Regions from separate parts of the Homo sapiens genome. Here regions 1, 2, 3, 5 and 6 are each linked to region 4. Evidence: promoter capture Hi-C in 16 types of primary human blood cells and fetal thymus (Javierre and others, 2016). All regions are on one chromosome and are shown on one strand. The core of a region is centred on a gene start or on the middle of the fragment in contact, and the rest is flanking DNA. Distances in the headings are between cores, read along the strand shown. Region 1 overlaps NDUFB6 (NADH:ubiquinone oxidoreductase subunit B6). Region 2 has its middle 16 kb from the start of NDUFB6. Region 3 has its middle 5.4 kb from the start of ACO1. Region 4 holds the start of IFT74 (intraflagellar transport 74). Region 5 has its middle 9.2 kb from the start of MTAP. Region 6 overlaps KLHL9 (kelch like family member 9).

The links. Contacts are between HindIII fragments. The CHiCAGO score rates a contact against its expected background, and 5 or more counts as called.
Region 1: a contact is called between a fragment that was not itself captured here and the fragment with the promoter of IFT74 in region 4, in 12 of 17 cell types (non-activated CD4 T cells, activated CD4 T cells, total CD4 T cells and 9 more). The highest score is 30.0, in non-activated CD4 T cells.
Region 2: a fragment that was not itself captured here is called in contact with the fragment with the promoter of IFT74 in region 4 in 2 of 17 cell types (activated CD4 T cells and non-activated CD4 T cells); the score reaches 7.1 in activated CD4 T cells.
Region 3: a contact is called between a fragment that was not itself captured here and the fragment with the promoter of IFT74 in region 4, in 7 of 17 cell types (naive CD8 T cells, non-activated CD4 T cells, total CD4 T cells and 4 more). The highest score is 14.7, in naive CD8 T cells.
Region 5: a contact is called between a fragment that was not itself captured here and the fragment with the promoter of IFT74 in region 4, in 1 of 17 cell types (fetal thymus). The highest score is 6.4, in fetal thymus.
Region 6: a fragment that was not itself captured here is called in contact with the fragment with the promoter of IFT74 in region 4 in 5 of 17 cell types (non-activated CD4 T cells, naive CD4 T cells, total B cells and 2 more); the score reaches 18.5 in non-activated CD4 T cells.

The regions. Positions count from the first base shown.
Region 1 is chr9:32,564,846-32,568,352 of GRCh38, forward strand. All of the region lies in intron 2 of NDUFB6 (NADH:ubiquinone oxidoreductase subunit B6), which reads right to left. It also overlaps a transcript of SMIM27 not described here and the pseudogene DFFBP1. Among named protein-coding and RNA genes, the nearest start is that of NDUFB6, 6.6 kb to the right of the region's middle. The HindIII fragment of the contact is 3,522 bases long and covers 1-3,503 here.
Region 2 is chr9:32,587,213-32,590,626 of GRCh38, forward strand. No RefSeq gene overlaps it. Among named protein-coding and RNA genes, the nearest start is that of NDUFB6, 16 kb to the left of the region's middle. The HindIII fragment of the contact is 6,567 bases long and covers 1-3,414 here.
Region 3 is chr9:32,377,514-32,380,918 of GRCh38, forward strand. No RefSeq gene overlaps it. Among named protein-coding and RNA genes, the nearest start is that of ACO1, 5.4 kb to the right of the region's middle. The HindIII fragment of the contact is 6,065 bases long and covers 1-3,405 here.
Region 4 is chr9:26,954,425-26,957,702 of GRCh38, forward strand. It overlaps IFT74 (intraflagellar transport 74), which reads left to right and starts at 1,988. Exons shown (of 20, transcript NM_025103.4): 1 at 1,988-2,092. It overlaps IFT74-AS1 (IFT74 antisense RNA 1), which reads right to left and starts at 1,883. Exons shown (of 2, transcript NR_121605.1): 1 at 1,703-1,883; 2 at 1,356-1,591. RefSeq lists enhancers at 1,200-1,935, 1,936-2,670 and a silencer at 3,267-3,278. The HindIII fragment of the contact is 1,304 bases long and covers 1,509-2,812 here.
Region 5 is chr9:21,791,669-21,795,187 of GRCh38, forward strand. No RefSeq gene overlaps it. Among named protein-coding and RNA genes, the nearest start is that of MTAP, 9.2 kb to the right of the region's middle. The HindIII fragment of the contact is 8,774 bases long and covers 1-3,519 here.
Region 6 is chr9:21,330,948-21,334,655 of GRCh38, forward strand. KLHL9 (kelch like family member 9) reads right to left here. Exons shown (of 1, transcript NM_018847.4): 1 at 1-3,708. The coding sequence ends at 2,059. The region is part of intron 2 of LOC107987053 (a long non-coding RNA gene); the gene reads left to right. Among named protein-coding and RNA genes, the nearest start is that of KLHL9, 2.6 kb to the right of the region's middle. The HindIII fragment of the contact is 2,424 bases long and covers 1,205-3,628 here.

The DNA.
Region 1 (3,507 bases), core at 493-2,992, 5.6 Mb after region 4:
CTTTTGCACTATGTAAATGTATCAAGTTGAATCATGAAATTAACGATCGCTCACCATTTTTGGCCTAGAAAAACGGCAGTTTCATGTGGTTCGACATAATAGCTATGGCCCTATTCATAGACATTGGGAGGTTTCCTACTTTTTGCCATTATAAACAATTCAGCAGGCCAGGTGCGGTGGCTCACGCTTGTAATCCCAGCACTTTGGGTGGCCAAAGCAGGCAGATCACTTGAGGTCAGGAGTTCAAGACCAGCCTGGCCAACATGGCAAAACCTCATCTCTGCTAAAAATACAAAAATTAGTCAGCCATGGTGGCGGACACCTGTAATCCCAGCTACTTGGTAGGCTGAGGCAGGAGAATCACTTGAACCCAGGAGGCAGAGGTCGCAGTGAGCCGAGATCGCGCCACTGCACTCCAGCCAGGAGACACAGTGAGACCCTGTCTCAAAAAAAAAAAAGAAAAAAATTCAGCAGTGAATGTCCTTTTATGTTCTTTATGGAGTACAAACATCTTACCCCCAAAGCATGACACCTCTCTTTTGGGCATTTAGAACAGTCAAGAAGGATGGAGCTGCCCATTTGCCATGGAAATGGAGAGCCAGCAGACAGCTGATGCATAAACAACTTGTCCCTCAAACAAGAGTGGCTAACTTCAGCCATGACACCGTTTTAGTATGGTGACCACACCACATGAGCAAACCAAATACTGGTAAAACCAGAGAACAGAAGAATTCCTCAGCTCAGGACAATTCTTATCCCTACTGACGACTCACAAGACATCCAGTGAGTACCCCAAAGTTGTCCTCTGGAAGTTGGGCTGTCAGAAGGTACAAAAAATGATTCAGGCCAGGCACGGAGGCCCACGCCTGTAATCCCAGCACTTTGGTAGGCCGAGGCAGGTGGATCACCTGAGGTCAGGAGTTCGAGACCAGGCCGACCAACATGGCGAAACCCTGTCTCTACTAAAAATACAAAAATTAGCCAGGCATGGTGGCACATACCTGTAATCCTAGCTACTTGGGAGGTTGAGGCAGGAGAATCACTTGAACCCGGGAGGCGGAGGTTGCAGTGAGCCAGGATCACACTACTACACTCCAGCCTGGGCAACGAAAGTGAAACTCCACCTACAAAAAACAAACAAACAAACAATGATTCAGAAATGTACTGAAATCAGATTTGCCGGAAATATTTTTTAAGGTTTTTTCCAGGAGCTACTGGAGTGACCAAAAAAAAAAAAAGGCACCTGTTAAAATTATGCCCACGACAGGCCTCGAACAAAGACGAGAATATGGTGTGTATATGTCACTGGCGCTTTCACACAGGCCACTTCCTCTTCAACCTTGTCTGGGGTTTGTAGATTCTGTTCAGGTCATAGCTGGTTTTGTGGGTGGTTTTCTTATGGCAGACAACACTAATTTTAGGTTCTCTGAGGTAGAAAGCAGGCCATAAAAATATTCCCAGTCCACTTCTCTTCCATCTTGTTCTTTAACTGCTTCCACCAGTGTAGGAATGATGGTGCGTTTTTGTTTCCACTATGTGATCCAGGTTCCAGGTCCAGAAGAGGAGCCTGCTCTCCCTGTTACTGTAGGGGTTGATGGAGTATCTTGACAAGCAGCCGTCCATGTCGAAGGGACCCTGGCAGGAGAACTAGCCTTCCGGTGTGCAGAGACGGCTGCCACCCTTGGCTCCTCTGTTGTATAGCTGCCGTCGTACTGCACAGACTGGAGCTTCTGGCACATGGAGCGGAGGACCCGCAGGAATTCCTCCTGAGCCTCTGCACCCACCATGGAGGAGCAGGAGCTCACCTCTCTCAGGTAACTCCGGATCCGGCTTTCACAGCTGTATCTCAGATAGCCAGACTTATTCCAAAATCGGGACTCCAAGCCTTCAAACCACAGCGGGTCCTCAGCCCGGGTGTCGGCTGCGACGTTCTGGCTGACGTTGTACAGGAGGTCGGCCAGCAGTCTCTGCCTCTGTGGGGGCCTGCTCATCACACAGTAGCTGCCGGGCGGCCTGGATGAGCCACGCGTGCGGCTGGCGAAAAGCACTGAGGAAGCACCCGATGTCACTCACATAGCCCTGCCAGGCCTGGCGTGAGGTGAGCAGCACCAGCTCGGCATCGTCGAGGACGCTTCGGTCAGCTCCATGCCATCCTCGTACGAGGGAGCTAGAAGCAGAGGTAGCCCTTGCGCAGCATCTCCCGGCAGCTCCTGCCCGCCATGCCAAACTTCCTCGGGCTGCACAGGGCCCGCAGCTTCACAGTCTTGTGCTTCTGGAGCACTGCAGATGTACTCAACGCCTCTGGGCCCCGCAGGCAGTGGCACCCGCTGGCCAGCTGCTCAAGCTGGTCCAGGCCCCAGTCACAGGGCTCTACACCAGGTGTGCTCTGCAAAACTGGCATGGGCCGGGAACCGATCCCAGAAACTCAGTGCCATTTTGCTAACAGCATGTGTTCACTTCACGTCTCTGTGCCATATTTTGGTAATTCTCCCAATATTTCAAACTTTTTCAGATGGAGTCTCGCTCTGTCACCCAGGCAGTGGTGCGATCTTGGCTCACTGCAACCTCCTTCTCCCAGGTTCAAGGGATTCTCCTGCCTCAGCCTCCCCAGTAGCTGGGACTACAGACGTGCACCAAGCCCGGCTAATTTTTGTATTTTAGTAGAGATGGGGTTTCACCATGTTGGCCAGGCTGATCTTGAACTCCTCACCTCAGCTGATTTGCCCACCTCAGCCTCCCAAAGTGCTGGGATTACAGGTGTGAGCCACCATGCCTGGCCTCAAACTTTGTCACTATTGTTATATTAATATTTGTTATGGTAATCTGCACTCAGTGATTTTTGATGTTACTACTACAAATTTTAGGGGCAACACAAATCACACCCATATAAGATAGTGAATTTAATAAGTAAATGTTGTGTGTTGTGACTGTTCCACCAACTGGCCATTCCCCACCTCTCTCCCTCTCCTTGGACTGTCCTATTCCCTGAGACACAACAATACTGAAATTAGGCCAATTTAATAACACTACAATGACCTCTAACTGTTCAAATAAAAGAAAGAGCTGCATGTTTCTCACTTCATATCAAAAGCTACTTGGTAGGCTGAGGCAGGAGAATTGCTTGAACCTGGGAGGCGGAGGTTGCAGTGAGTCGAGATGGCACCACCGCACTCCAGCCTGAGTGACACAGCAAGACCTTGTCTCAAAAAGAAAAAAAAAAGATAGTGATTCCTCTGATGGATCTAGGCAAAGAAAATGGAAAATCTTCTGGGAAAGAATTTACTATCCTATATGCCATTAAGAAGATTTGTGATTAACAGGAGGAGGTCAAAGTATCAACATGAACAAGAGTTTGGAAGAAGTTGATTTCAACTCTCGTGGATGACTTTGAGGGGTTCAGGAATTCGGTGCAGGAAGGAACTCGATGTAGTGGATATAGCAAAAGAACTAGAATTAGAAGTGGAGCCTGACCATGTGACTGAAGTGCCTCCATCACATGATAAAGCT
Region 2 (3,414 bases), core at 704-3,203, 5.6 Mb after region 4:
CTTCAAATCAAAATCCCAGGCTAGGTGGTGGCTCACACCTGTAATCCCAAACTTTGGGAGGCTGAGATGGGTGGATCACTTGAGGCCAGGAGTTTGAGACCAGCCTGGCCAACATGGCGAAACCCCGTCTCTGCTAAAAACACAAAACTTAGCTGGGCATGGTGGTGCACACCTGTAATCCCAGCTACTCGGGAGGCCGAGGCAAGAGAATCGCTTGAACCCAGGAGGAGGAGGTTGCAGTGAGCCTAGATTGTGCCACTGCACTTCAGCCTGGGTGACAGAGCAAGACTGTCTCAAAACAAGCAAACAAACAAACAAAAAATCCCACCGATAGTTTTCAAGGCTCTTAGTAACCTGCCTTTATTTTGCCTACACCACTTAATTTCACCCTCTTCCCCTACCTCAACCCTACATTATGGAGCAATTGCATTTCTGTCCTTCAAAAATATCACCGTATTCACTACCGTCTCCTTGAGTTCTTCCTATCTGCCAGCAGAGAGTCTTACCCAAGTCCTACTGCCTCTGTAAACTTTGACCTCCGTGGCTCAGTGATTTTTGCTTCTTTTGCCCATCTAAAGGCTTCTTTGTCTGTTAAACCTATGCCAAGTTTTGCTTTCACAAATGGCTCAGTTGAAAAATTTATTCAACATCCCACTCTGCATAGCTTGAATATACCTGAAATAGCTATTATTTGGAAACAGGCACATCCATATCTTTGCAGGACATCTTGGAATAGAGTTCATTAAGAAGTTTAATTAGCAGGAAATGATGTATGATAACATTAGTAAATGTCTGGTGGCTAAACTGACAAGGCCCTGTTTCCAAACTTCCCATGTGGTGAACACCTCACACTGCACTCACCATGGCTAAAGCTGTGGGAAGCACCTCTTTTCAAGCCTCATCATTTCCAGCCACAGCCTGCCTCTGACTCCACAAGAGCAAACTCTGTCAAACAGAGTGTTGTGGTTTTACTTACAGCTGTTCTGCTGGATGTTTTCAGTATTTATAAACCATGTGCTTGCTCTTAAAACTTGCAGAAAAGAGTTCAAATGCTCACATGTGTCTCTGAAGAAAATCATTGCCTTTCTCTCCTATTATCTTCTTTCTTTCTCCCAGTTTCTTCTCTCCTGTCTTAATCAGGGTAATTAACAGATAACTCCAAATTTTCATTGGCCTAAAATGATAAAAGTGTATTTCATGTCCCCATCACAGTCTATTGCAGGTTATGGGGATTATGGTGTAGGATTAGGCTCTACTCAGACATTCAAGGACGCAGGATGATAAAGGGTCCCATGGTCTGCCTGAGCAATGACATCCACCAGATGTGGGTGGGGAGGGGAGACAAAAAAAATGGGGGACGATGTTGGATATTTTAGGAGCTAGAACTGCAAGTCTCCCATCCACATTCTATTTGCCAGAACTCAGTCACAGGGCCCCACCTAACTGCAGGGAATGCTGGAAAATGTAATTTAGCTATGTTTTTGGGAAAAGAACAAAATGAGTTTGATGAACAAACCCTTCATTCCATTTGGCTAGGGAGAGGTTTATATATACGCTTCCTTGGAGGGCTAAGGAAGGGTATATGCAACCAGTCCACAGAAACATCCTTTGACATCTCATACATGCCAACAATGTGTTTGATGGGTCATACACAGTCCAGTTACATCTGTAACAAACATCTAGATCCTATATAATATACCGTCTTGTATAAATCTTGGATCGTCTCACATATACATTTGTTAATTCTTCAATGAGACTTCACAGTTGAGGGGGTGGCAGTGAGAGGAGACAAGCTAGAAAGGGCTGTTTTCCATAGGAAGGGAAAAAAGAAAACAACTTAGTTTTAGAAACTTAATTGAATGTATATCCACAGAACACGATATTACAAAATTAATCAGTGCGGAAAGTTGAGTGGAAAGATACTTATTTCTGAGCAAAAGATTGTATTGGGGACAGTTAATTTGGGTCTAGAGGCATGAAAACGCATATTTTAAAGACTCAAATGTAAGGTCTTAAAGGATGCACTCATAGTTTCACAATTAGGAGATTCCACTAGATGGCCCTGTTTCAAAGTGCTACAAAGCTGGAGATGTACAGCTTCCTGGTAACTGCAACTCTCAGACCTTTTCAAGTATTTAGGGCACTTTGTTATCAACTGTAGTTGATTTTTCTAAAATACTATTGATGTGGCAAATTTCATCGTTTAGTATGACATGGAAATGTTTTGGTAAAAGAATTTAGCCCAAAGTTTTCTTAACAGAGTATTTCGTTCTGAACAAATCATTTAAAATGAACAACCTGCACTGAAATGACAGCCTGTCCCCCAAAGTGCAGAATCAGCAGTGATGTTGCAAGAGTTCAGGAAGAAGCTGGAGCTGTAAATTTCCCTTGCTCCAAGTGGATTTTAAAGCCAACACAGATTCTGTCCCCCCTCCCTTTTCTAGCTCTATTTTGAGACACACATTTCAAAGTCCTAGGTTATTCCGCTATGTTATATGGATTTTGACAACTCCAAATAAGTCTAAACCACCCAATCAAAATATTTTCTGAAACTAAAATAGGATGATTATAATAAAAAGCTACAAAACCCATATTTATTAACTAGGGCCTGGTAGTTGTCCTTATTAGACATCTCCAGAATTGCTGACGAGATAGAACAGAGAATGCTAGTGTCTCTTTTTCCTAACTGTGCATTCATTAATACTGGCATCCTTTGTGTCAGGTATTTGCTCTCAAACCTAAAAGGAAGTTTATCCAATTAAAAATTAAAGACCAATGGTGGGATCTTCCACCACTTCTGCTCTCATCATTGCCTCCTGCAAATTTGATAGTGGCAACATTGGTTTATTCCCAGAAACAAAGGAAGCCAACAGCAGAGCCTCCACTCCTACCATCCATCAGGATTGTTCCTGTATGTAAATGGAGGCCCCACACTACACTCAACATTATTAAACGGTTCTTTTTTTTTTTTTTTTTTTTTTTTGAGATGGAGTTTCACTCTTGTTGCCCTGGCTGGAGTGCAATGGCATGATGTCAGCTCACGGCAACCTCCGCCTCCCTGGTTCAAGCGCTTCTCCTGCTTCAGCCTCCCCAGTAGCTGGGATTATAGGCATGCGCCACCACGCCCAGCTAATTTTGTATTTTTAGTAGAGATGGGGTTTCTCCACGTTGGCCAGGCTGGTCTCAAACTCCTAACCTCAGGTGGCCCGCCTCGGCCTCCCAAAGTGCTGGGTTTACAGGCATGTGCCACCACACCCAGCTCATTATTAAACAGTTCTAAGACACATCCACAATTGTAGATGAGAAATCAGAGTACTACTTTTGGCTAAGATAGTCTCCTACCAGTACTATGGCTATCTAGTTATCTCGGATATTCTGTTGAAAATACCTTCCATCCCAGTTCTTCCAGATTTA
Region 3 (3,405 bases), core at 829-3,328, 5.4 Mb after region 4:
TTCCAACAAAAGCTAGCAAAGCCAGAAGACATGGCTTGATTTTTTTGTTGTTGTTTTTTTCAGGTAGAGTCTCATTCTGTCACTCAGGCGGAGTGCAAGTGGCAAGCAAGAACAGGGATCACTGCAGCCTCGATCTTCTAGGTTCAAGAGATTCTCTCACCTCAGCCTCCTGAGTAGCTGAGACTGTGCACATCCCACCACGCCTGGCTAATTTTTTAAAAAAAATTTTTAGAGATAGAGTCTCACCATGTTGCCCAGGCTTGCCTGGAACTCCTGGGCTCAAGTGATCTTCCCACCTCAGCTTCCCAAAGTGCTGGGATTATACACATGAGCCACCGTGACTGGCCTGGACTGATACTTTTAAATGCTGGAAAAAAATAACTGCCAATCCAATATTTAATATCCAGAAAAAATGTTATTCAACAAAGACAGTAGGCTGGGCACGGTGGCTCATGCCTATAATCCCAGCACTCTAGGAGGCTGAGGCCGGAGGATCGCTTGAGCTCAGGAGTTCCAGACCAGCCTGGACAATATAGTAAGACCCTGTCTCTATAAAAAAAATTAAAAATTATTCAGGCATGGTAGTGCATGCCTGTAGTCCCAGCTATTCAGGAGGCTGAGGTGGAAGGATTGCCTGACCCTGGGAAGTCAAGGTGGCAATGGACTGTGTTCGTGCCACTGCCTTACAGCCTGGGTGACAGAGTGAGGGCCCTAGCACTTTGGGAGGCCGAGGCAGGTGGATCACCTGAGGTCAGGAGTTCGAGACAGCCTGGCCAACACGGTGAAACCCCGTCTCCACTAAAAATACAAAAATTAGTTGGGCATGGTGGTGGGCGCCGATGGTCCCAGCTACTCGGGAGGCTGAGGCACGAGAATCACTTGAACCCAGAGGCAGAGGTTGCAGTTAGCCCAGATTGCACTCTTTTGCCTGGGCAACAGAGCGAGACTCGTCTCAAAAATAAATAAATAAAAAATAAAGACAGTAAAATAAAGACATTTCACAACAAATGAAGCCTGAGAATATTTATCACCAGTAGAAAATGTTTTCTTCTTAATACTTATTCTGTCTTTTCTTGAGACAAGGTCTCACTCTCTGTCACCCAATTATTGATTCTCCTAATGCTAACCATCCTCTCAGCTTTTTACGGCTAGCAATGTGTTTGCCACATACTCATCAACAGAGGGCAGTAGCTCACCATCATTGGTTTAGTTAGCCTGCATGGTACTTTCAAGGATGGACTTGTAACAGACAAATGTATCTTTCTGTGTCGTCTGTTGTCGTTTCCTCCCACCAAGTATGGGAGAAGGGAGGAGAGGAACTACTAAGAAGCAGTCAACAAAAATGGTAAAAGTATGCTTGAATCTAAACAAATATTGACCCTATAAACAGAAATAATAATGCCTTCAAGAGTTACAATGTGTGACTATAAAATACAAGATAACAATGGCATAGAAATCAAAAGGAGGGTACATGAAGTTAGAAGGTTGTAAGAACCTGGAATTATCTGGGGAAAAAAAGATAAAAAATAACAATTAACATTAGATTTTGATATGTGAAAGATGAATGCTGTACTATCGTGGGCAAACATTAAAATAATATCAGTAAAGCTGTGGGAAAATAATAAAACAATAAGTTCTCAGGTCCCTCAGAGTAAGAATTAATCATAGTCATTTTTGGACTCATCACACCAAGCTCTTAGCAGAGCCAGTTTGTGGACTGATTAAGTTTCTGCTCTCTAACTTCTAGGACAGTCAGTAAATGTGAAATTAAGGAACAAAAGGTAGCTTTCTTAATCCATTTATGTCTTCTTAATACTTATTCTCCGTCTCTCTTTGAGACAAGTTCTCACTCTGTCGCCCAATTGTTTTTTCTCTTAATGCTAACCATCCTCTCAGCTTTTTCTGTTTGACAATGTGTTTACCACACACTCATCAACAGAGGGCAGTAGCTCACCATCATCTGGTTAAGTTAATCTGCATGGTACTTTGAAGGATGAACTTGGAACAGACGAAATGTTTGCTGTTTCCTCCCACCAAGGATGGGGCAAGGGAGGAGGGAAAGAGGATTTTCCATTTTAAAAAGCACTTAGAGCCAGGCACAGTGGTTCACACCTGTAATCCCAGCACTTTGGGAGGTCGAGGCAGGAGGATTGCTTGAGCTCAGAAGTTTGAGACCAGCCTGGGCAACATGAGGAGATCCCACCTCTATAAAAAATTTTAAAATTAGCTGAGTGTGGTGGCACACACCTTTGGTCCCAGCTACTCAGGAGGCTGAGGTAGGAGGATTGCTTGAGCCCAGGAGGTCGAGGCTGCATTGAGCCGTGATCCTGCCACTGCACTCCAGCCTGGGCAACAGAGAAAAATCCTGTCTCAAGAAGAAAATTTAAAAAGCACTTAAACTGACATGTGGAAGTAATCTCATCATAAACTGGAATTAGAAATGAGTCAAATTAGTGACAAATTTTTATTTTTACTCTCATTTGTCAACATTACCAAATTATTTTCTTGAAAAAAATGTTTTATTTTGTGTATACCTAAATAATTTAAAGGACCAATCCTGCAGAGTACTTCCCTCTCCCTTCTGAAAAATATATAACACAAAGTACTCAAAAAGTATCCAGCAAATTAACACATGTGAAAGATGGTACTAGACACCTAGGAATTATGTACCAATCCTGGAATTCATACTCAAGCTGCCCCTGATTTCCAACACCTCCATCCCCCAGAATGAGGACTCTCTTTACCCAGGTGTCCCTACATTACATGGCTGCAGCAGGGATCTCTGTGCTATCATCAGGGAGAACAAGCCCTGGAAATACGTGAATAAGGAATTCCAGCCTATATGGTGATAGAACAAATCTTTTCTCTAGAACATTTAAGTCCCTCTTCTGCAAAGAACAAATAATTTACAGCTTCAGGGTATCTGATGATTTTGTTGCATAATGCTTAAAAGCACAAGCTATGGAGTGAGGCCAGCCTTCTCTAAAACCCCAGGATCACCCTTTAAGTTTCATGACTGAAGCATTCTGTGTAACTACTCTGAATCTCAGTTTCCTCATCTGTGAAACTATGGCAATAACAATGTTACCAGCATCAACAGGCGGTTGTGAAGATTTTTATTATTAGCTATATTGAGAGGAATGGTGCTTAACTGTAAGCAGCTGCCCAGAGGATTCTTGTTCCCTGGGAAGGCAGTTCAGGGATCAGGCCCTTAGGCAGTAATTAAGAGAGCATGCAAATTAAGCGTATAGCAGGTGTGGTGAGAAGAGGGCATCAGGGGAGAGCAGTTGGCTATTTACCGGGAACCAAGATGAGGCTAAGACCTGCCTCTCCTTGTTATGAATATAACTTTGATTTTAAGAGGAACAAAACATTTATTTCAAATTTTCTCTAGTATGAAGACAT
Region 4 (3,278 bases), core at 738-3,237:
TGGGGGAGCCCCAAACCACTTATGATTTGGAGCTGCCTAATTCATGAATTGCTGTCTGTTCAAATAAGCTCTTTAAAATTTTAATGTGCCAAAGTTTACCTTTTAACAGATAGGAATAGTACAGGGTGCACTGAGGACATATAATGAGGTGGGGGGCCAGAAGGAGTTGGAGCACTAATCTAGTATGGACTGGCAGAGAAGACCTCTCTAATAAAAGACATTTGGGTTAAGACCTGAATGATGAACAGGACTTTGGACAGTGAAAAGCAGAGGGACAAAGATTCCAGGAAGAGAGAATTGCAGTGAAAAGGACTAGAGACAGAAAGGAACTTGAAACACAAGTAGTCTTACAATAAACTTAAAATTTGACATAACCTAATTACTAACCAAATTACAACTTGATATAACCTAATTCCAATTTGATATAACCTTAAAAGCAACAGAACCTAATACATAATGATCCAAAGTCAAATAAGATATGGTGCCTACTCTAAGGAAGCTCAGAGGCAAATAAGTGAGATGTATTCCTATTCTCTATTCCTTTTTCATCATGAAAAAGAAATGGGGACAGGGATCAATACTTACTACCTAAATGAGCTTAAGCAAATTATTTAATCTCTTTAAAACTTGGATAATAGTATCTGTCCTGCCAATTTCAACTGTTAATATCTGTCAGGGTCCTTAAGTGCAAGGAACAGAAATCATCTATAAATGATATAAAAGCTGAAAATGAATTTATTAAAGGACATTAAGCAGCTCACAGACTCTCCCAGAAGCTGAAGAAACAAGCTAGAGGTTCTCCTCCCAATAAAGCCTCTGAGTACCTAACACTGCAGCTTGCAACAACACACTGATGCTGGACACTGGTTGCTGGTGATAGAACATTGCAGTCTCGGAAACGATGTAGTTACTGCGGCTGTCACCCTTACTTCAACAGACTCTCTGAAGTCCTGCTTCTGGTTGTCATTCAAGTTTGAGTTGAGTCCACCAAATTAGATTGGAGAGTCTAGCAAGCAATAATACTCATGTCCCAGTAATAAGGAAGACTAGGAAAGCCAGTATCTGTCACTTTCAGTTCCTGTAAGGGTGTTGGGGGGCAGGGTAAGGGAGAAACTCTGCCAAAAGGATGACAAATGGCCACTGCAAATAGGGTGAGCTCAAATGAGATAATTACATGAAAATGTTTCACAAACTAAGGGAGAATTCAGCCACATAACATTATCTCATTTTGTGTTGTATTGATTTTTAACTCCTCGAAGGCAGGCAAGTTGGAAATAATGTGTAAAATAATGTTAAAATCCCAATACATATGCAATCACATTTAAGCTGTTATCAATGAAGATTGGAAGGAAACATACAGTAAAAGTTATTTTATTAGAGAAGTGGGATTTAAGGTGAAGTAGTTCTTAAATTAAAAAAAAAAAAAAAAAGGACACTTTCCATTGAATTCACAGTCTTCCCCACAAACTTGGATCCAAATTCTAATGAAAGGAAGCTTAAAGACGCAAAGCTTCTGGTGAAAGCAGGAACGGAACAGTTGGTGCCAGAATCGCATCCATACTTCATGATGCGTTGTGTACGCTATGCCGTCCTAATAGGAAGGAAAACTACCACAAATTAGGAGTTTAGAAAATTGCACAATGCTGCCTACCACTTAACTTCAAATGTAACCTGTTAACAACGTTAGCCGACGTGAGGTTACCTAGGGACATAGCAAAACTCGCTAGAGTTACTTCAAGTAAGGCACACGGAGGTTGCTCTGATTATCAAGAAAACCAAACGTTCACATAAAATGTTTGTCTTCCAGCCGCCCCGCTGTTTTCCACTTTTTCCAAAAAGCACTGAAGCGTGGTGAAGAAACAAACATATCCTCAATTCTCGCGAGAGCTCCGTGTGTAACCAAGGGCTGAGGCGGAGGATTGGTCACTCAGGATGAGGAGCCTCCGCTATCCCGCCCCCGTTGCCGGGATACGCCGCGGCGCACGGCAGTTAGTGGGTAGGCCTGAGAGCCGAGGAAAACTGAGCGTGGGCCTCAGAAAGAAGTTAAGGCACCCGCGAGCCGGGCAACTGCCCTCCTTCCGCGCCGGCGGAGGTGAGAATCCCCGGGTCCCATCTCTTCCTCCCTCCCTCCCACGTCTGTTCTCTTGCCTTGGAGATGCTGATCCGCTCCAAACAAAACAAATTCAAACTCGGTCTTAGCTAACTGTTACCGTCGGGCCTGTAGCCAGGCCAGGCATGTACCAATTCTAGTCGAGCGAAGGTTGCGAACAGACCTCCTCCAACAGCCCGACCCCTCCCCGACCCCCCGCAGGAGACCCGCCAAGCACAGAGCAGAGGGAAGGACCGCGATGGGCTGAAGGATTTTAGTCAAAGCAATACATTTCTGCCTCTTACAGTGGAAGGGACTTATTTCTGTCTGTTGATCACAGTGCGGGCAGTTAGCAACTTTCCACTTATTCACCTGTGTGAGAATGGTTGGCTTAGGGAGGATAACGATAGTAATAATAATTAGAAGCAGATGTTTTAAATGTAATACTTATCGTCTTCACAACAGCCCTGCAAGGTAGATGTCACCCTTCTGTTTTACAGAAGATGAAATCCTGAGGGGTTAATTAAGGTGGCAAGATTATGCAGCCGCTAACTTTGTCAGCACTAGTTTGTATCGCTAATCATTCTGGATCCAAAGGCCAGGCTGCCTCTCTGTGTGAATAATTGGAAATTGTGTGACTCTTTGATTGAATAACCCCGAAGTTAGTGGTATATTTGTTGCTAATGCCCGCCTCTTAATCCCACTGGTAATAATATAATGGTAAGCTTTTTTTCACCACAGTAAAACGGTGGCAAAGAAAATTGGGTGAAATTTTTTATGTTGTACATTTTCTCAAAGTTAGCAGGAAACCTAGAGTAATATCTTTTCCACTGGAAAGAGATGTTTATTGTACTCGTTTTCTTCTGGAAAAACCATTTTGATCATACACCGTCTTCCTTTTCAAAGAGTCATTTCATGAAATTCCTTTTTCCATTTGAAATTCTTTTGCTTTGTACATAGAGTTCAAAATGGCAAGGAATTAGAATCAGGGAGCTAGTGGGGTCAGGAAGATTGATGTGAACATATTCAAATGAGATATCTGAATGGAAATTTCAGATAAACAATTGAAAACTCAAAATTGGTGCCCAGTTGAAAGGGCAGAACTGTAGACATTGATTAGTGAGCCGTACACATAGTTGGAGTTATAAAGATGCATGACTGTAGAAAGGATAGAAGCAGTCCAAGGACT
Region 5 (3,519 bases), core at 428-2,927, 5.2 Mb before region 4:
GTGGTCAATGTAGTTTTGACAAAGATTTCAAGAACACACAGTGGGTATAATGACAGTCTCTTCAATAAGCAGCGTTGGAAAAACTGGATATCCACCCACAGAAGAATGAAATTAGACCCTCATCTCACTCCATATACAAAAATAAACTCAAAATAGATTTCAGATTTAAATGTAAAGCCCAAAACTGTAAAATTTCTAAAAGAAAACGTAGAGGAAATGCCCTGTGATACTGGTCTGAACAGTGGTTTCTTGGATACAACATAAAAAGCATAGGAAATAAAAGAAAAAATAGACAAATGAGACTGTATCAAACAGAAAAATCTTCTGGACAGCAAAGGAAATAATAGAGTAAAGGAACAACCCAAGAATTCGGATAAAATATTTGCAAATCTGTCTTCTGATAAGGGCCTAATATCCAAAATATATAAGGAACTAAAACAATTCAGTAGCAAGAAAACAACCTGATTTAAAAAATGGGCAAAGGACCAAAGTAGACATTTCTCAAAAGAAGATAAATGGCCAACAGATACATGAAAAACTATTCAACATCATCAATCATCAGGGAAATGCAAATTAAAATCACAATGAGATATCAAGTCATTTCTATTAGAACGGCTATTATCAAAAAGATGAAAGAGAACAAGTGTTGGAGGGGGATGCGGAGAAAAGGGAACCCTTGTGCACAGTGGTAGGAAGGTAAATTAGTATAATCACTTCAGAAAACAGTACAAAGTTTCCTTAAACAAACAAAAATACAATTACCATATGATCCAGCAATTCCACTTCTGGACATACATCCAAAGAAAATGAAATGAGTATGTCAAGGAGATATGTGCACTTTCATGTTTATTGAAGCATTGTTCACAATAGCCAAGACGTGAAATCAACCTAAGTGTCCATTATGAATGAATGGATAAAGATGATACACAATTGAATATTATTCAACCTTTAGGAAAAGAAGGAAATTCTGCCCTTTGTGACAATGAGGATGAACCGGGAGAAAATTATGCTAAGTAGAATAGGCCAGGCAGAGAAACACAAATACTGTACTGCATGATCTTACTTATATATGGAATCTAAAAAAGTCAAACTCATAGATGTAGAGAGTAGAACGGTGCCTACCAGAAGCTGGAGATTTGGAGGTAGTGATTATTTGAATGGGGAAAGGGAAGATGTTGATCAAAGGGCACAAAGTTTCAGTTAGACAGAAGGAATAAGTCTGTGATCTATTGCACAGCATGGTGACTATAATTAAGAATAATGTTTTATATATTTCAAAATTGCTAAAAGAGTATATTTTAAACGTTCTTACATAAAGAAATGCTAAGTATCTGAGATAGAAAATATGTCAGTTTGATTTAATTATTCTATAATGTGCATATATGTTCATATATAACATCTCCTGAATATATACAATTCAGGATATATATATATATACATATGTCTCCTGAATATATACAATTATTGTCAATTAACAATAAAATTAAGAAAGATATAGCAAGCAAAAAATACTCCTCTTCCACTTTCCCTCAGTACTTTACAAATACATTTCCCACTGCATTCTTATGAAGTGCTAGTTTAGTAATTAGTAAGCCTCTTTATACTTCACCCTCATTTTAAGTCACCGTTTCCATCTATTTTCCTTTACTGAAATCTGCCTATCCTTTCACTCTACAGCTTTCTCTTAAGGAGGTTGTTATTTTTCCATTCCCTACATACTAGGGGACTGTGATGAAGGGTAGCAATCTCCTGGTTTCTCATTGCCAACTCCAGGTTGGTTTGCTTCCATGGCCTCTAGAAAAACTAATGCTATTAGAAGGTGGTCTCTTCCATCTGGCTCTACCATCCTCTGATCATCCCTGTGGCTTTGATTTACCAGCCCCTCCAACAGCTGGACCTTGTATCATGGTCTTCGTCTTACCCCAAGTCCTATCTGCCACAGTTCTAGGAGATGTAATATGAATGTAGACAATACACACATGGAGATTTAAAAAAAAACAAACCACCTTCCCCCTTTCCCCCATCTGACTAATTCACTTGCTCACTTCTTGGATCTTTCCATAACCTTTAGAACTTATTACTCTTCTAAAACCTTGAGCTCCGATATCTCCCTCCAGGACCTCCTCTCCTTCCCTCTTTCACATTCCCTCACCCTACCCTCATGGCTCTTAGACTCCTTTAAGTCCTCCAGTCCCTTGATCCTCCACCCCCTTGATCCTCCACCTTCCCCCATCATCCAGGTCCTTCATGGCTTCATTGTTCCCCACAGGGCTGGATTTCTTTGATTGATAAGATAAACTTATACTTCCCCAACATCCTCAATTCCTTGAGGTCCTATCTGATCAGACAAGGGTGAAGGGCTGTCAGAAAAAATTACACGCCCTTGCAGATTGGTACCATTTCTAATTCATGGTCCCTAATCTGACATGGTCAAATCTTTGTCATCTTTTCTCAAACTCATTATGCAACCCTTATCTCTTACTTTGTTAAGAAAATTATACCATCAAGAGTCGTCTTTCTTAGGTTCACAGCACCTACTCTTAAACTATCTAGAGGCCCCATTCTTACCTCCTTTCTTCCAGCCCCATGTCTCCATTCTAATAGAGGACTATGATTTCTGTCAGAGCTTCTGATCCCATTCCTCTGGGATCTTGGGCCATTAGCCATACCTCTCTTAGTGTCTTCCATTTTTTCTTCTTTGTGAACTTCTTTTCACTTGCTTACAAACACGCTCAAAACTCTCTCCTTAGTAAAAGAAAAAAAAAATACCCCATTGACTACCTATCCTCTGCTGTTCATCTCCCAGTATCTCCTCCCTTTTCATCCAGACTTTATGAAGTACAGGTTTGTTGTTTCTTTTCCTCACCCACAGGCTGTTCACACTCTCTCCAATTTGCCAGAGTTTCGCTCTTGAGGCAATAGTCCATGTGAATTTTGTATTGGGTATTTGAAAAAAAAAATTCCGGAGTAAAATAAGGGTGAGAGCTCTGTGTGTGAAGAAGTATTTAAAAGCTATTTGGGTTTTAAATTGTATTAAAAGTCAGAAAATTTAAAAACAAGTCTTCCTTAAGCATTTCTGTTCAACTTACAAATCTTTTTATACTGTTTACAAGTTGAGTATAATGAGAAATATCACCTTTACTTTTTTATTGATTACTGTATTAGCTATTTTTGGATTAACATTTCTAAATTGAACAGAATAATTTTCCTCAATACTTTAATTATATTCGATTAAATATTTTAAACAGTTTTTCAAAAATTTGACTTTAATTTTTAAGCATTTCAAATGTCTGACAGGACAAATTTACAATACCTATAAACAAAATGTTTCCGAGAACTCAGATAATGCTTGAAATAAAATTATTTATACTCAGGAAATATAACAAATCAAAGTACCTTATATAATCTGATAATATACGGAAACTTAGTCAAATTATTTTTGCCTTTTAGCTTAAAATCAAACTTAAAATCAATTGCATATTCAATTGGAATTATGAGGATAACCTCTGAAATTCTATG
Region 6 (3,708 bases), core at 1,167-3,666, 5.6 Mb before region 4:
CAAAAATTAACTGAACAGCGTTGCCTTTGTAAAACTACAACAGATTGAGGGAAGAAATAAATGCAAGCAAATGCAAGTTAAATTACATTTATTATATAAAGAGATCCTATAACTTGATACGAAAAACAAAGCAACTCCAACAGATAACAGAAGGGCAAAAGGACAGGAACATCTGATCAAAGAAACACAGCTACCGATAGCACACAAATATTCAACCTCATTAATAATCAAAGGATTAGGATGCACTTCTTGCTTATTCAATAAAGTTAATAATTTCTAATTTTTCTACTTTTCAAATGTACTCAAATGTGCTATTTTTAGTAATAAAAAACTGAGTAATTAAAAAAACATAGAAAGTATGAAAATTTCTGCCAATGCAGAAATCATAAACAGCATTAAAATGAATCAACACTTGTATGGGCAGTAAGGTTCAGACCCCTAGAAGCCAATTCATTTTGCCTTGGTTCCTGAGTTTTATTATGGGATTGTCAATAAGGAGAAAGTTGTTCCTGATTTACATGCTGACAATCTTCCAGGTATAGGGGGTTGTGTGTGTGTATTACACACACACACAATGTATATATAAATTTTTTTTCTTCAGGTAGACAATTATTCCAGGAAAGTACCTCTTCAGAATCACTCATTACAGAGAATTCCTGTAACTCCATTTGCTGATAAAAGTCCCATTAAAAATTACCATGTGGTTCTCAACCAATAGGGATACCTTTGGCATTGAAGAGGCTGAGGGTTGATTTTAGTACTGCTTGTAAGACCATAGTGTTCCAGAGGCTCTGTAGCTGGCTTCTTTGGGAATCTGAAGTTGGTCCTGTCTTTGAGACATGGCCAAAAGCACATTTTTCCTCACTTGATGCAGAAGAAAATGTTATCTCCTGCTTGCTCAGATCATAGCCTCGAGGCAGATCACACAGCTCAGGATGCACATGGACTGGAACAGCACCAGGGCAAGCACCCCAAATCACAAAATAATCATGTTAGGATGACTAAGTTGGGAGGCTGAACTTAAAACCCTATAGCTTTGTTCAGAATATTTTTTTCTTTGCTTTTTTCATTAAGTTTTACTGACCAAAAAGGTGGAAAAAAGAACCTAAATTTTCTGCACAAAAGCAGTTCTCTGAAACCTGAACTTTACCAATCTGTGTAAAAGTACTCTACAGAAAATACACAAGCAGAAAACAGTAATGTAAGCTTCATCTGAAGTAACGGTTTAGTCACATGACAAATTTGGTTGTCGATTTAGTATGCTGTAGCCCTTATCTATCTAAATTCAGTATGACTACATAGACATTTATTCTCTGGTACTGAATTTCCATTTGAATAGAAACGGCTGCTTTGTGGAAGAAAGAAACTTCAATTTAAAAACAATTTCAGCATCGTTGAAGTGCCAATCAGTTTTCAAATTATGTGTGTGTATACATATGTATGTATGTGTGCATGCATGTATGTTTGTATTATGTGTATTTTTTCCTCCTCTCTCCCTCTCTTGCTCGCTCTAGAGAGAGATACCAAATACTGGCTTGGTGCTATACTGTTTTTTCCTAGTTAATATTTTTATTATTTCTGTCTACGTAAGAAACTTCAAATATTCTGAATGCAACCACACAATCGAGTAAGTTGACAGACATGACAAAAACTACGAAAAGAGGGAGGTAACTAGTATTAATACTTGGCAACCTTTCGTTATTTTTAGTTTAGAGCGGCCTCCCTCTGACATTTTGGAGTCAAAGATGAAAACTCAACTTTGAAGCATAATGGACATAATTACACATTTACCACAGTCATCTACAATTTTATATAACATCACAAAAAGACATCTAAACATTTTTCTACGTCTTTTTTTCATTTGTTAAAACAGCTATGTTAAATACATTTTCAGAATGCATTTGTTAGCCACTTGATAAACATACTAAAAGCCATACAAGACGAATAACATCAGTTACCTTTATATCTAATAACTGTACCAATCACTGTAAGAAGATACAACTGAAGGGGAAGTATTAGATCACCCATGACGTACTGCAAAGGTGTTACACCTTAGACCTAAGAATGATCTGAAGGTGCTGAAAGAGGTGATTCTCTAGAAGGTGACCCAGGGTTTTCTTCAGGTGGAAAAACTGTGAGTGTACAGGCTCGAATGCCACCAAGTGACTCTGGAAGATCAAAAACTTTATGCCACTCATCTTTTTCTGGGTCATATTTCTGGACAATTTCTACCATACAACGATTATTCCAAGAATATCCACCAACAACATAGATTTTATTTTCAAAGACGGCAACTCCAACATCACTTTGGCCTCTTAACATGGCGGCAATTGGGGTCCACTGGTCAAGGGTTGGTGAATAGTATTCACAGCTTAGAACATCATCATAATCACTTGTTCCTCTGAAGTGATTGCCACCAATGACATAGAGCTTATCTCCAACTGTACACATGCAATGCAGACCTCTGACTGTAGTCATTGGAGCCTTTTGCATCCATTTATCTGTATCTGGGTCAAAACACATGAGCTCATTTTGGAAAGTGTCATGGGTAATTCCTCCTGAAATATACATTAAGCCTCCATATACTGTTCCAGCATGACCATAGTGGGGTTCACTCATTTTTGCAACATAGCTCCACTCATTCATTCTTGGGTTGTAACATTCTACTGTGGCCAGTTCACCAGCTGCACTGCGCCCACCAACTGCATACAAATGTCCTTTGAGGGCACTCAAGTGAAAGAATGTGCGCTTTTCATTTAATGATGCAACCTGCATCCATTTATTATACCGAGGATCAAATCTGAAAACTGTATCAACAGCAGTTTTTCCTTTTGTATCATAATTACTCTGACCACCAACTACATAAAGAAAGTTTCCAATGACAGCAATACCATGCTGGTAACGGGGAGCATCCATTGGGGCTAAAGATCTCCATTCTTGTGCCCTTTCATCATACATCCGTAATTCTTTACTGACAACCAGCTGCTGCCTCAAAACTCCTCCTAATGTAACCAAGTGAGTGGAGTCAGATCGAATGGCAGTTCTATCTGACTGCATCACTGGCTGCATATATGGCATCATTTGGTAATTGCTAGCTTCCAAAAGCAAATTCACGCAGGTATTGTCTGTTCTCATGAAATCTACTGTCTGCACGTAATTGATGAGATCCTGTGGTGTCATCAGTGGAAATCGAATATTCTTCATTAACTTTGCAGCATAATCCATCCGAGGGTCTTCCAACCTTAGCCAGCGACAGGCTGCCTTAAAGAGTTCAAGTTCGGTACAGTGCTTAAGACTATTACTGGAAAGCACAAATGCAAGTCGTTCAAAAGGGAGTTTTAGAAACTCCCCAGTACTCAATAAAGCAGGAAAGTTCTTCAGGATGAAATTATTAACATATTTATCCACTTCTATAAGATTGTAGGTGTTAGCAATTCGTCCAACCTCAACACAGTTATCCAAAGAGACTCCTGATATAAGAAATACTTTACAGAAATCCAAAACGGGTAATATTTGTAAAAAGCTAGCAGCTTCAAGTGTGTCCTGAAGATTGTCCATATTAAGAGAAAGTTTTGCAGTATAAATAAAATCAATGATTTTCTTCAGACCAACCTTGTTCACCCCATGAAGCTTAATGCACATCAAATCTTGTTCTTTCATTCCACCTGTGAACATGGCTTTGAAATAATCACTAGCAGACGCCATCAT